Regions from separate parts of the Homo sapiens genome. Here region 1 is linked to region 2. Evidence: promoter capture Hi-C in 16 types of primary human blood cells and fetal thymus (Javierre and others, 2016). All regions are on one chromosome and are shown on one strand. The core of a region is centred on a gene start or on the middle of the fragment in contact, and the rest is flanking DNA. Distances in the headings are between cores, read along the strand shown.

The links. Contacts are between HindIII fragments. The CHiCAGO score rates a contact against its expected background, and 5 or more counts as called.
Region 1: a fragment that was not itself captured here is called in contact with the fragment with the promoter of SAMM50 in region 2 in 2 of 17 cell types (total B cells and erythroblasts); the score reaches 7.0 in total B cells.

Annotation. Positions count from the first base shown.
Region 1 is chr22:44,076,837-44,084,429 of GRCh38, forward strand. All of the region lies in intron 1 of PARVB (parvin beta), which reads left to right. Among named protein-coding and RNA genes, the nearest start is that of PARVB, 56 kb to the left of the region's middle. The HindIII fragment of the contact is 1,958 bases long and covers 4,489-6,446 here.
Region 2 is chr22:43,952,148-43,960,105 of GRCh38, forward strand. It overlaps SAMM50 (SAMM50 sorting and assembly machinery component), which reads left to right and starts at 3,295. Exons shown (of 15, transcript NM_015380.5): 1 at 3,295-3,451. The coding sequence starts at 3,431. It also overlaps the pseudogene RPL35AP36. RefSeq lists enhancers at 2,520-3,272, 2,940-2,989, 3,070-3,149, 3,273-4,024, 3,830-4,039 and a silencer at 3,113-3,387. The HindIII fragment of the contact is 6,277 bases long and covers 2,446-7,958 here.

The sequences.
Region 1 (7,593 bases), core at 4,218-6,717, 130 kb after region 2:
GGGGGCTGGGGCTGGGTCCTGTGCCCCCTCCCCAGCCCTCGGTATGTGGCTCGCTGAGGTGTGCGCCGGAATGTTGGGCACATCCTGTCTGATACCAGCTTGGCTGGAAGTCGAATTATGATCAGAATATCACATGATGTGTGGCCTGGGTCCCCCTTTGGTTGACACTCTTGAGTATGGGTCCTGTGCCTGCCCGGGGCCAAGCAGCAGGTGCAACCGGGCCTGCCCTGGGGCAGCATGGGGTGTGCTAGTGTCCTGGGGCCACTGTAACAAAGCACCACAACCTGAGTGGCTTAAACAACAGAAACATAGTCTGTCACAGTTTTGGAGGCTGGAAGTCCAAGATCAAGGTGTCAGCTGGGCTGTGCTCCCTCCAGGGCTCCGAGAGGATCCCCCTTGGCCTCTTCCAGGCTGTGGTGGCTCTGGTGTTCCCTGCCGTGGGCCACATCACTCCAGCCTCTGTCTCCCTCTTCACGTGGGCCTCCTTCTCCGTCTGTGTCTCTGTCCTCTCCTCTTCTTGTAAGGACGCCTGTCATTGGATTAGGGCCCACCCTAATGACCGAATCTGCAACTTGATTACATCTGCAAAGACCCTGCTTCCAAATAAGGCCACAGTCACAGGTGTTGGGGGCCAGACTCCAGTGTGCCTTTTAGGGGAGATACAGTGCAATACACAGCACACAGTGAGGTCTTCCAGATCCCCAGACCTATCTTCTTCCAGACCGCCAGACAACACCGATAAGGGTGAAGTTGGCTTACGAGTCCTGGCCAGGATGTGACGGGGAGTCGCCAGGTGGGTGCCGGGGAGGTGGGAAGCTCTGCAGGGGATTGGAGAACCACACGTCATTGCCCACATGTGACTTTAAACCTTAGCAATGATATTGGAGGGGGATAGTTACTCTTTTTTTTTCTTCTGAGACAGTGTCTCATTCTGTCATCCAGGCTGGTGTGCAATGGTTCTAGCGATTCTCCTGCCTCAGCCTCCCGAGTAGCTGGTATTACAGGCACCTACCATGACACTCGGCTAATTTTTGTGTTTTTAGTTGAGACGGGTTTTCACCATGTTGGCCAGGCTGGTTTCGAACTCCTGACCTCAAGTGATCCGCCCACCTCAGCCTCCCGAAGTGCTGGGATTGTAGGCAGGGGATATTACTCTTTACAGCTAGGGAAACAGTTGGGCTTGGTGACATGATAGAGACACCAGGTCCCTTGAGGACAGGGGGCCATTTGCAGAGCCGTGTGGTGGAAGGAGCCTGAATTTGGAGCCCCAAGCTCACAGCGTGGGTCCTTGTCACATGTCCTGTGAGCTCTGTTTGCATCCTTAGCTCAGGCAAGCTACTGTGTTGAACTGGCTGGACACAGTGTGTCTGTCTCTCCCTCTTCCAGAGAAGTCCTCACTTAAGGTTGTGTCACTGTTTTTACTGATGTTGGAATTGGCACTTGGAGATGTGAACTTTCCCAAGGCCACACACCCAGATGAGTGGTTAGACCCGGACCTGCCTAACTCCAGCATATCTTTTTCAGGGGGACACAATTAAATCCACAGCATGGACTGAGTTCCCCTCTTCTCTGCCACCATCCTGACCTTTTCCTGGCCAGGGTTACCATGTCGGGGCAGGCATGGGGGAAGTGGTAAGGGAGGTATCTGGACCTAGTAAAAGGCTCTGGTCCTCCTGCTTCCTCTTGTAAGGACCCTGTCAATCACATCGGGCCCCCTGAATAACCAGGCTAATCTCCCACCCCAAGGTCCTTACCTAATCACATCTACAAAGTCCCCCTCTTGCCATGTGAAGTCACAGGTTCCTGGGACTTGATGTGAACATCTTTGCAGGGACCATGATCCAGCCTTCCATAGAGGCAGTGACAGATGGAGTAGAATATAGGTCCTTTGAGTATTTATTTATTTAAGATGGAGTCTCACTCTGTCGCCCAGGCTGGAGTGCAATGGCGAGATCTCAGCTCACTGCAGCCTCTGACTCCTGGGTTCAAGCGATTCTCCTGCCTCAGCCTCCCAAGTAACTAGGATTACAGGCGCAGACCACCAAGTGCAGCTAATTTTTTTGTATTTTTAATAGAGATGAGGTTTTACCATGTTGGCCAGGCTGGTCTCAAACTCTTGACCTAAGGTGATCCACCCGCCTCGGCCTCCCAAAGTGCTGGGATAACAGGCGTGAGCCACCGCGCCCGGCCCCTGTGAGTTTTTACAAGAGACACTGCAGTAGAGAGAATGGTAGAGTCCTCAAACCCTGATTCAGTCGTTCATGAATTCACTGAGCACTCAACGTTTCCCGCAATGTGTGTCCTCTTCTTTGCCAGCCTGCTGGTGTGCTCCTGGTGCTTGGTCCACCATAGATGGGTGTGCTTGGTCCAGGAGGCTGATGGTGCTGACATCTGGGCTGATATTCACCGTTTTTAGTGACTTGAATGACGTCCATGCAGAAGAGCTAGTGCACCATCCTTGTGTTTGAAAATGCCCGGGCTCCAGCCTGAGAACCTGGTAGGCCAGTAATTGGAGGGACAGTAGCAGGATCGAGAAGCCATCTGTGTCACGTGTTCTTGGGGACAAAGAGGAGACACAGGCTCAAGGAACAGCAAGGTTTGTGGGACACAGCTGTGTCTGAAAACGTCAAGCAGTTAGCTCATCCCTGGCTACTTCCTGTGAACCCATTAAATCCCCAGGCTGAGGAGGACAGAGGGTGAGGGAATCTGACCCCTTACTCAGCCCTTTAGCCAGCGGCTGCTGTGCTAAGCCATTCTGAGAAGCCACCGGTGGAGAACTGACTTCAGGTCGTGCTGACTGTGAGGCCATCCAGTTGTTTTTGCACATTGAAAACAATACATTACACTTTGGGAGGCCGAGGTGGGTGGATCACTTGAGGTCAGGAGTTCGAGACCAGCCTGGCCAACATGGTGAAACCCCGTCTCTACTAAACATACAAAAATTAGCCGGGCATGGTGGTGGGCGCCTGTAATCCCAGCTACTTGGGAGGCTGAGGCAGGAGGATCGCTTGAACCCAGGATGTGGTGGTTGAAGTGAGCCGAGATTGTGCCACTGCACTCCAGCCTGGGGGACAGAGCAAGACTCCTTCTCAAAAAAAACATTGTTCCGGATTTGCTAATAAGGAGGCAACCTCCTCAGACCTTGGTGTCACAGGAGAATGGCCCGCGGCAGCCTTAGGGCCAGTTGTGATTTTATCCACAGTGTTGGTCAGATGCGTCCTCTGTGCTTGTTTAATATTCATTCTGCTTGCGTGAACAAAGCCATGTCAGTTTCAGTAACGCTTGTGCCAGGGGGCACCCGGTGTGGAGCAGGGCTCAGTAAAACTGCTGCAAAGAATGTTCCAGGCTTTTTGAAATTACGTGGAGTTGCTGGGGCTCTCTTGAGGCTGTTAATTTACTTAGGGCTGCTGTGACAAAATACCACAAACCCAGTGGTTTAAACCAACACAAATCTATTATTTTACAGTTCTGGAGGTCAGGAGTCCCAACATCAAGGTGGCAGCAGGGCCGGTTCCTTCCGGAGGCTCCAGGGGAGAATCCCATTCCTTGCCTTTTCCAACTTGCAGAGGCACCTGCGTTCCTTAGTGCCTGGCCTCTTCCTCTGTCTTCAAAGCCATCTCCCGATCTTTCTCTGTCTCCTTCGCCACACCTCCTCTGGCTCTGGCCCTCCTGCTTCCTCTTGTAAGGACCCTGTCAATCACATTGGGCCCCCTGCATAATCCAGGCTAATCTCCCACCCCAAGGTCCTTACCTAATCACATCTGCAAACTCCCTCTTGCCATGCAAAGTCACAGTTTCCTGGGACTTGATGTGGACATCTTTGCAGGGACCAAGATCCAGCCTTCCATAGAGACAGTGACAGATGGAGTAGAAAGTACATCCTTTGAGTTTTTACAGGAGACACTGCAGTAGAGAGAATGGTAGAGTCCCGAAACCCTGATTCATTCATTCATGAATTCACCGAGTGTTCACGGAGCACCTGCCTCAGTCCAGGCGTCATGTTGGGAGCAGGGGAGACAGAGCAGGCCATGCATCTGTCCTTTCAGAGCACTGTAGACGCAAATCCTGTAGCACAGATGTGCCTTAGACTAATAGTGCCTCGAAAGGAGAGGAAGGGGAATGGATGCGGGGAGTGGGGAACCTGACCTGCTTTGTGGGGTCATGGAGTGACTCTCCACCTGCCGTCATCCCTCCATCCCTTGTTTGGGGCTGTTCCTCCAAAGGTGCAGTCTCCAGCAGGGGTGTGGGGACCCCTGTGGGCCGTGAAGGCCTTTCTCCTTTTCTGCTGTGGGCATTGCATCTGTTCCTGATGGGTAGAGTTGTCTGTGCCCGGTGGGGCCCAAGGCAGTGCCATGGTGGTTCTTTGAGTATCTCAGGTGGGAACTGAGCTGCCAGCACCAGAGGCCAATGGCTTCCAGCACTCCCCAAATCCACCTGCTTTTGGAAGGGGCCTGTCTCCGAAGCAGGCCGGGTCCTCCTGTTGGGGGAAGCTTTCATGGAGGCATCTGTGTCACTTCTGCAGGGGAGACAGCCGCTAGAGGGCACTGTCCTTCTGGCCTTTCCCACATCCCCGTTTCCATGGCAGGTGCATAGTAAAGCCTTTCTTTTTCTAACGACTTAATGATTTAATCTTCTTATTTTCTCAGCAGACAACGCTTTGGACTTCCCTGGATACATTGGGACGTTACCAGTCACATTAATTAATACGAGTTTCACAACTTGGGAACCAGCGAACGTGCTTCTCCAGACTTAGCTTCTGCACGGCCGTTTCTGCTTTCCTTTATGAAGTGCGTTTCTCTAAGAGCCTGGCAGTCTCATGGGGCTCGTCTGTTGCTGGAAGTGAGCAGCGGGTTCCATTGCCCCCCGCCTCGGTGGGGCTCATTGTGCAGCTTGCTGGCAAGTGGCTGGGCTCGGAGGGGCGGTGACGGTGACACACGCCAGGGGAAAGGTTGGCATCCTCTTCTGAGAATTGTTTCTTTTGGGTTTCACACCCTGCCCCCACCTTCTGCTGCCTCGAGGCTCTTTTCTTCTTATTATTAGCTAATGACAGATTTCATGACCAGTGACTGAAATCATTTGGAAGTACCCCCTGAAAGCCAGCGTGATGGGTTGGAGAAATGTGACAGACGCAGCCTCTGAAAATCACAGAGGCAGAGGCTTGCGTCGAAGGACTTGCTAAGGAATTAGGATGAGAGTGGTCAGGAGGCAGTGGCTGCTGGGCACTGGAGCTGAGGGTGAGGGGCCGAGAAAACGGGAGGCAAATGGGGTAGCTCTTTTTTGGGGCGGGGGAGGCTGGCTTTGGGGATGTGTATCCCACTGTGCACCGCAAGGTGGGGGCACTGGGCGGTAGGTTCCCGTGCTCCGGAAGGGTGGCAATTGAAGGGAGGAATTAAAGAAGTTGGCCAGGTGCGGTGGTTCGTGCCTGTAATCCCAGCACTTTGGGAGGCCGAGGCAGGTGGATCACTTGAAATCAGGAGTTCGAGATCCACCTGGCCAACATAGTGAAACCTCATCTGTACTAAAAATACAAAAATTAGCTGGGTGTGGTGGTGCACACTTGTAATCCCAGCTACTCAGGAGGCTGAGGCAGGAGAATCGCTTGAATCTGGGAGGTGGAGGTTGCAGTGAGCCAAGATCGAGCCACTGCACTCCAGCCTGGGCGACAGAGCAAGAGTCCGTCTCAAAAACAAAAACAAAAACAAAAAACAAAAAACAAAAACTGACTCATGTGGCTTTCAGTCTGAGAAACCAATCAGATCATCATTGTCTCTAAAGAATGTGTCCTCCTTTGTAGACAAGAAGCTCACCGGCCCCTCCATGCCCCGGTTTCTCGCCCAGGTGGGTTAGACGGCCAACCTGACATTTTACCGTGCACCTGGAAGTCTTTCTTCCTGTTCTCCTTCCCACAAAGGATTCATTTTTCTGTGGTTCTAACATTTTCCTGATCACCCCAGGGACAAAGGGGAAGAAAAGACCGTGTTTCTGGGCCAAGGGAATCATCTGTTTAACATGGGCTTCGGAGCTTTTTTTACATTTCTATGTAAGCAACTTTTCGTATTCAGAAGACCCAGTTTCCCTGAGCCAGATGGACTCCTTCCATCTCGGGGTGGTCTGTATTTCAGATTCCTGCAGCAGGTGGCTGGTCGGAATGCACACCCCAGGAGGTGAGGCTGGGGGGATGTTGGCTCCTGGGCTGCTTGTACTAGCAAGTCCCTAATTGCGGAGCGGACTCCTTCCTCCTGAGCCCATCAGCCTCTACGTGGCCACATCAGGGTAATTGGGTTCCTTGTGAAACACGACTGCCAGGCTAATGTAAACCTTAATGGAAACCCTCTTTTTCCACCCAATTAAGTGGCTGGAGGTGGGATGCTGTGTGAGAGCCGTCAGTTCAGTTCCCTGACTTTCTCTTGTAGAAATTATCTATGTAGCTCCATTTGGCCTACATAAGCTTAGCATTTGTGTTCATTCATTCATTCATTCCACAGATATTCAGAGAGCAGTTATCCATGTGCTGGGTTTTATGCAGGATGTGAGGCCATGGTCATGAATGGGACCTGGCCCCTGTGCACTCCTTGCGGGGTCGGGGGGTGCAGGGAGATGAGCACAGTCCACAATCACATGATCGGGGAATAGGGTTTGTCATTGTCATGTGCACGGGGAGCTGTGGAAACCCAGAGGAGGGGCCCGAACTGCACCCAGGGATAGAGGATGTGCAGAGTGTGCTTTCCAGACGGTGGGAAATGGGTGGAGCTAGCTGACCTGAAGTGAAGGGCATTGCAGGTTGTGGGGACAGTCGAGCAGAGGGGCAGAGATATGACCTACAGAAGTGGCCTGGAATGGCCTCATCAGACGATGAGTGTGGAAGCATGGTAACTGCAGCTGTATTGATGAGAGGAGGGGTCTGCTCATTAACAGTCATCGGGTACCACTATGAAGGTTTTGCGTTTTACCCTGGAGCTGGTGGGAGCCATGGGGTGCACTGCAGCAGGGAGTGACCAACGCCAGCTTTGTGTATTGGAAGGATTTCTACATCAGACAGGACTCTCTTGGTTTGCAAAGGACAGAAAACCCAACTCAAAATGGCTTAAAAGCAAAACAGAATTCACTGGTACATTTGACAGAATGGTCTGTGGGGTTGGATGGCCTCAGGTAAGGCTTGATCCAGCACATAGAAGGTGTTGCTAGATCCTAGATTCTGTTCTCCCCTTCCCCGAGCTCTTTCGATCTGGTGCCTTCATCTCCAGGCTCTGTATAGTGGTAAGATGATGGGACGGCTTCAACCTCCATCCTTTCTGGGTCAAGGCCAGTGGGAAGGAGTGCCTGTCTCATTCTCTATTCCTGGTAAAGTCTCAGTGCAGTTCATTAGCTCTAACTGGGCCATGCCCATCCCTGACTGTGTTCCTGGGAGGCCAGTGTGCCAGCTGGCTTTGTCCTGGGATGCCTGCTCCACCCCAGAGCTGAACTACAAGGCCCGAGCATGGTGGCAGGAGGGGTGGCTCTCTCTGAGGGAGGCTGAGTCTTGTTTGCCTGAAAGGATCAATGGATGCTGGAGAAGAAAAGCAATGGTGTCCATAACAGTCACCTCCAGAAGGG
Region 2 (7,958 bases), core at 2,045-4,544:
CCAGCACCTTCCTGTGCCTCCAGGCCTTCCCTGCCAGTACACCCCCTCCAGCCCCTGAAGCCCTGTCAGCAGCTCAGAGCCTTTCCCCGGAGTCACCCTGCTTCCCGAGGGGACCCACGTTGCTGCTGGGCAAGCTGAGGCCCCGCCACAACCCCAGCGCCTTCCTCTGCCTCCAGACTCCCTCCTAGCACACCCTCTCCAGCTCCTGCAGTCCCACCAGCAGCTCAGAGCCTCTTCCCTGAGTCACCCTGCTTCCCGAGGGGACCTCCACCCAGGGAATGCCCTTCCAGGCTCCTCTCACTGATTCACCTTCACTCCTCAGAGGTCAGGTGCTGGCTGATAGAGGCAATGAGGTGAGCCCCTCACCTCAGGGCGCTCAGCCCCTGGGAAGGTGATGAAAAAGGGCACCCCAAGGGGTGTCCCAAACTAATAGGTGGATGACTCCCGTGGGAAGATCCAGTCTCCCCTCCCCATGGCCAATTAAATTTGGGGTGTTTTTCTTTACTTTTTTGAGGCAAGGTCTTGCTTTGTTGCTCAGGCTGGAGTGCAGTGGCACAATCACAGCTCACTGCAGCCTTGACCTCCTGGGCTCAAGCAATCCTCCTCCTTCAGCTTCCTGAGGAGGTTTTAATTAAATAAATTAAAAGCTAATTAAAAACATTTTTTTTTTTTTTTGGTAGAGATGGGGTCTCACTGTTTTCCAGGCTGATCTTGAACTCCTGGACTCAAGCAATCCTCTTGCTTCAGCCTCTGGAGTAGCTGGGACTACAGGTGCTTGCTACTATGCCCAGCTATTTTTTTTATTTTTTATTTTTATTTTGTAGTGATGGGGTGTGTTTCCTAGGCTGATCTTGAACTCCTGGGCTCAAGCAATCCTCCTGCCTCGGCCTCCCAAAGTGCTGAGATTATAGGTATGAGCCATTGCACTCAGCCTGGATTGTATTAAGGAAACTAGCTTAGTCACTAAACTGCACTTCTACTTCTGATTGGACAAGATTGGCACTTTGTAAACCAGGTTTTCTGGGATGCTGGTTTCCTTGAAGATGTTTCTAGCTGGTATTATCATATAGGATAGGCTGAGTTATGCTGCATTAACAAGCAAAACCCAAAAGGTTTATTTCTCATTCGTGCTGTATGTCCAGCAAATGTGGCTGGGCTTCATTTTAAGTCGTCCTCACTCCCAGACCTAGCCTGTAGGTGCCCCACCATTGGGGGATCGCTGATTGCCATGGCATGGTTAGAGAAATATGGTTCTTAAAGGTTCTCATCCAGAGTGGCACATCTCTCTTCTGCTCACAATGTGTTGACCAAAGCAAGTCACATGGATGGGAGCAGGGAGATGCAATCCTCTCTTGTGCCCAAAAGAGGAGCACAAGAAATACTGTTGAATAGCATTGCCAGAGGCCACAGAAAAATCTCCAAAACCAAAAATCTCTATGACCCAATAAATTCAAGAAATACTGGGTTAAAGAGAAGGAAACCAGTATATGCACTGTGAGACTTCTCAGTCTTTATTATATACATTGTAACCATCACAGACAGCCTTTAATATATACATCTTAACTATCACAGACAGCCTTCAGTATATTATATACATTATAACCATCACAGACAGCCTTCAATATATTATATACATTATAACCATCACAGACAGCCTTTAATATATACATTATAACTATCACAGCCTTTAATATATTATGTACATTGTAACTATCACAGCCTTTAATATATTATATACATTGTAACTACCACCGCCTTTAATATAGTATACCCATTGTAACTATCACAGCCTTTAATATACACATTGTTAACTACCACAGACAGCCTTTAATATATTATATACATTGTAACTATCACAGATAGCCTTTAATATATACATTGTAACTATCGCAGACAGCCCTTTGTTTGAGGGTAAAGCATGTGACTTTGTTTTCCTCCTGTTCCCTCTGCCATCCTCCAGGGCCTCACACACAATAGGCTCTCAAATATTGCAACCATCTTGCACTCTGCAGGGCAACCTCATGGCTTATCCTTTACAAGTGGCATACTCAGAAGAATAACGAGGAAGAAAGTGTAAGAAAAGAGGGCTGTTTGGGCAAAGAAAATCTGGTTGATTCGATGTTTACAGAGTGCCAGGCCCCATGCTTGATCTCATGAGGTCCTCAGACCTTATGCCTTAGGCTATCATTTCCATTTTACAGATAAGGAATTGAGGCTCAGGGAACTGAGAGTGAGGGAAGGGCAGGGGCCTGGCTGGTGCTGGGTTCTGTCTCTTTCCAGGCAAGAAGGGACATGTGGACTTGAATATTTAGCTCAGGGATGTTGGAGGCCTAGGGTGCTGCTATTTAAATGGAAAGGGTGTCAGGGTTTCTGGGAGGGAGTAAGGGGACAGAAGAAAAGATGCTTCTGTTATCAGAAGGGAGTGGCAACGTGACAGGATACTGAAGCTTCCTCTTTTCTTATTCTGTCTCGTTTCTTTCAATATACTTATCACAATGTGTGGCTGATATTTATTATGCCTTTTTCTTTTCTATTCTCTTTTCTTTTTTGGGGCAGGGGAGCTGTTTTGCCACCAAAACCTAAGCCCATGGCCGTCTTCTTCACCGATATGACTGGTTCTCATGCAAGCACCTAGATGGCCCTCGCCCATAATTACTGGCTGCAGTTGAGTGAATAGCGGTCATTATCTAGCGCCCACCGTGTGCCCGGCCCGGTGCCGGGAGCTTTGCTTTCCGTCTCTCACATTAGGCCCTTTTAATCCAACCCCCAAGAAGGAGACACGACCATCGTCTTCATTTTGACGATTTTGAGTGGGGGTTCCAATGACTTGAACGAAAGGAGCCAGGGCACCAATCCGGGTTTGTGTAGCAGATGCCGGTGAGACCCGACTACTGCAGCTCGGGGGTGGCCGGACCCGGGGTCTCCCCGCTGAGTCTCGGGGCTTCACCGGCGCGTGGGCACAAGCACAGCACCCTCGGGTCGGGGGTGCTAGGAGGGCTAAGAGCAGCAGGACTTGAGTGACACCCAACAGCTGGTCTGATCTCTTTCAGGCGCCAACGCCAGACGCCAGCCTCCCAGCGGACCCTCTCGCAGACCCACCTTCACCCCACGCGCCCTCCCCACACAGTCCACGCGCCAGCAGCTTCGCGGATGTCAGTGAACGCTCTTCGCTTGCGCAGTCAGAACGTCCTCCGCGGCCGTGTGAACATCCGGGTCACAGGCGCATAAGGACCAATGAGCGAAGGCATCGCGAGCCAGGGGGCGCGGAGAAGGCGGGGAATCATGGCCGCCCCCAGTGTTCCGCGTCCGGGGGTTTGTGGGAGTTGCCTTGACCTGCAGCTCCGCCACCGCGGACCCGCCTTCTGCCCTCAGCAGCAGACGCTCTGTCCCGCCCGGGCAGCTCTGCGAGGCAGCGGCTGGAGAGGGAACCATGGGGACTGTGCACGCCCGGGTAAGAGGCCCAGCGACCCGCGGGCTGCGAGGCCTCTGGGCCAGCAGGGCAGACGGGCGCCGCGGGGAGACGCTCTCGTGGCTGCGCCCAGGGTTCACCGGGAGAGAGGGTGCCAAGGGTGCCGGGCTGGGTGGAGGAGGCCGAAAAGAGGTCGCCTCGGGCCAGCGAGTCTTGCAGACCTTCGAGCAGGAACCTGATAGGAGGGACGAGACTTGGCTAAAGGTCACTCGGCGAGTCCGTGGCCCAAAGGACTTGCCAACTTTCTGTGATGTCTTAGACCGCAGTGAATGTGCTCTTTCTTTGCATGATTTTAAGTTTTCTCTCTTTACTGGTCACTTCCAGCCTTTCCCCGCTCAGCCGCTGCTGGAGCCATTGTAGGCTCCTAGAGCAACAAGAATCCTTTGAAGTCTTCTAACTCAAACCTATCTAGGGGTCCTCTTTTCTCCTGTCTACCGTGCAAAAGACGGAACCGCTCTCTGCCTTACTTCCTGTTTTAAAGTGGAGGTAGTAATAGTACCTACCTCGCCTGGCTTAAAAGAGAATTAAAAGACAATGCATGTGAATACTTGGGTGCCTGGCGCCTGACTAACTGTACTGGTTGCCAAACTCCTCTCGTTTATCCTAATCTTAAATAAGGGCCAGATAATGAGTTACTTCTCCAAGGTCACATAGTTACTGGTTCCAAATGGCCTAAAACCTCAGATTTCCTGAGTCTCAGCCCCAACACTACTTTTCTACTGCAACTTTGATTGCTTCACTTGACCTGCATAGACGTTTTCAGTAGTTCCCCATTAACTTCCAAAAAAATTTAGCACAGAAGTCGCAGCCTGACATCGATAATTGGACTTAACTTCCCTTTATATGTCTTTCATTCAGATCAAACACCGTTTCTCTTCTGACATCTCTTTGTGTAACTGTAATAGGTCTGTTGCTCAGTGTGCTCGATAAGTCAATACACTCAGACAGTGGGTTGCAGCAGAGAAAGAGTTTCAGTTGCAGGGCCGCTGAACGAGGAGATGGGAAAAGAGAGGAAACCTCAAATCCATCTCCTTCAGGAGTTTGGACCTCATGTTTTTGCTGAAGTGTGGAGATCCTTGATTGGTGGAAGAGTGAAGGGTGAAGTTATGGGACAGGGAGATGAGGAAACTTCTCATGCTGATTCCGTTCCTCTGTTGCGGGGAGGAGTCTTCAAACTGGTTGGCAGCATCAGTTTTGCTGGAATTCGAGATCTGAAAAACATCTAAAGCAACTCTTAAGCAAAAGCCTTATGATTCTAATTTTAGAAATCCTATCTGTAAAATCAATGGGGATGCAAATAGTATCTGTGACTTTTGGTTACTAGCAAGTAGGTCAGAGTGCAACCTGAGCTCTTCCTGCCATCTTGGCTCCTGTGGCGGCCTGCCGGGAGCAGGACTTCTGAAAGGAAATATGTCTGGAAGGCTGTGGTCCAAGGCCATTTTTGCTGGCTATAAGTGGAGTCTCCGGAACCAAAGGGAGCACACAGCTCTTCTTAAAATTGAAGGTGTTTATGCCCGAGATGAAACAGAATTCTATTTGGGCTCATGTATACAAAGCAAAGAACAACATAGTGACTCCTGGCGGCAAATCAAACAAAGCCAGAGTAATCTGGGGAAAGGTAACTCGGGCCCACAGAAACAATGGCATGATTCGTGCCAAATTCTGAAGCAATCTTCCTGCTAAGGCTGTTGGACACAGAATCCGAGTAATGCTGTACCCCTCAAGGATTTAAACTAATGAAAAGTCAATAAATCAATGTGGATTTGTGCTCTTGAAAAAAAAAAGGCAACTTGATTAATGGTTAATTGTAACTACATTTCTTTTGAGATGGAGTCTCACTGTGTTGCCCAGGCTGGAGTGCAATGGTGCAATCTCCACTCACTGCAACCTCCGCCTCCCAGGTTCAAGCGATTCTCCTGCCTCAGCCTCCCATGTAGCTGGGATTATAGGCGCACGCCACCACACCCAGCCAATTTTTGTATTTTTAGTAGAGACGGGGGTTTCATCATGTTGGCCAGGCTGGTCTTGAACTCCTGACCTCAAGTGATCATCCCGCCTCGGCCTCCCAAAGTGCTGAGATTACAGGTGTGAGCCACTGCGCCCAGCCAATTATAACTACATTTCTGTCCAGATGTCCAGAATAATTTTTTTTGTTGTTGTTGAGACAGAGTCTTGCTCTGTGCCCAGGCTGGAGTGCAGTGGCACGGTCTTGGCTCACTGCAAGCTCCACCTCCCAGATTCACACCATTCTCCTGCTTCAGCCTCCTGAATAGCTGGGACCACAGGCGCCTGCCACCATGTTCGGCTAATTTTTTGTATTAGTAGAGACGGGGTTTCACTGTTAGCTAGGATGGTCTCGATCTCCTGACCTTGTGATCCGCCTGCCTCGGCCTTCCAAAGTGCTGAGATTACAGGCATGAGTCACCACGCCTGGCCTTTGTCCAGAATTCTTGTTAGCCCTGTGAGGATGGCTTTATTTGGACCGCACTATTGCACTTCATTCCCCCTCCCATCATCCATCTTTAGCATCAAAATATTCCCATCTTTTAGAACTCCGTTCTGAAAGTTCTTTATCCCCTGCATTTGGATGGGCTTCGCCTTTCCGTGCCATTTCCTTTGGTGCCATTTACATTTTGGCTTGTTTTGGGTCTGTTTGCATTTTCGTCTTATCCTTTGATCCTAAATTTCTAGATGTAATGGTAGGAACTGCATCTTCTTGGCTTGCATCCCCTGTGGCATCTTGAACAAAGTAATCACTCATTATTTATTCAGCTCATATTTATTGATGGTCTGCTATGTGCCTAGCACTGTGATAGGTGCCAGGGATACAGGGAAAAAAGTATCTGCCTTTATGGAGCTCTTTTTTTTTTTTTTTTTTTTGAGGCGGAGTCTTTCTCTGTCACCCAGGCTGGAGTGCAGTGGCGCCATCTCGGCTCACTGCAACCTCTGCCTCCCGGGTTCAAGTGATTCTCCTGCCTCAGCCTCCCGAGTAGCTGGGACTACAGGCGTGTGCCATCACACCTGGCTAATTTTTGTATTTTTAGTAGAGACAGGGTTTTGCCATGTTGGCCAGGATGGTCTCAATCTCCTGACCTTGTGATCCACCCGCCTCAGCCTCCCAAAGTGCGGGGATTACAGGCATGAGCCATTGCGCCTAGCCTGTGGAGCTCTTTTTACATTAAAATTGCTGCTGCTTTGATGAGTGTTTTGAGAAAAAAACGTTTTCAGTTCTTTTATTTGACTTTTTCATCCCACTAGCCAGTGTCTTTCAGACTTTTTGATCAAGACTCAAACAGTAAGAAAACATTTGCCATTTACCACCTAGTACTCATGCTTATGTCAAACAAAATTTTGTGCAATAATACTTAATATGTGTTATGTATTGTTATATTTTCAGTTTTCTTTTTTTTTTTTTTTTTTGAGATGGAGTCTTGCTCTGTCTCCCAGGCTGGAGTGCAGTGGCGTGATCTTGGCTCACTGCAACTTCTGCCTCCTGGGTTCAAGCGATTCTCCTACCTCAGCCCCCTGAGTGGCTGGGATTACAGACAGGTGCCACCACACCCAGCTAACTTTTGTATTTTTACCTGAGATGGGGTTTCACCATGTTGTCCAGGCTGGTCCTGAACTCCTGATCTCAGGTGATCTGCCTGCCTCAGCCTCCTGAAGTGTTGGGATTACAGGTGTGAGCCACTGTGCCCAGCCTGTTGTTATATTTTCTCTTGGATTCTAGTCTATCTCACTTTAAAGATGCTGTTCATAACTCATTCATTTCATGTCCCATACCCGCTGCCTTGCACATGGTGCTCAATACACACTTATTGACTGACTGGTAGACCGATCTGCTTAAAGGTTAAAGGCTACATCCAAATATTTATTTTATTTTTTTATATTACACACACACACACACACACACACACACACACACACTTTTTAATAGAAACAGGGTCTCACTATGTTGCCCAGGCTGGTCTCAAACTCCTGGGCTCAAGTGATCCTCCTGCCTTGGCCTCTCAAAGTGCCAGTGCTAGGTACAGACATGAGCTACTGTGCCTAGCCCAAATATATATTTTAGCGCATTTTACCAAACACTCACCCCATGCCTATTATTCTAGGCATAGAATTTATGGGATGTACATTCTATGAGGGTGAGGTTCTTATAAGTGCTTGTCACACAGTAGGATCTTAATATTTGGTGAATGAATGAATATTAGTAACACAGTTACTAATATTTTGATTAAAGTATATTTACAGGGTATTAATCCTATAATGACTTTAGGGTTTAGAGATAATAGAAAAATAGATGTAAGATGTATGAATAGGTATAAGAGGTTGTAACTGTGAAACTTCAATGGTGTCATCTCTTGAAGTCTGGATTTTAGATTAAAGAATACGGATGGACCTGGAAGATCTTTGGTGAACCTTGTTTCATGCTTGGAGATTTTAGAAAGTGCAGTGGAATTTTTTCAGCGTAATGGGATATAAACCTTTG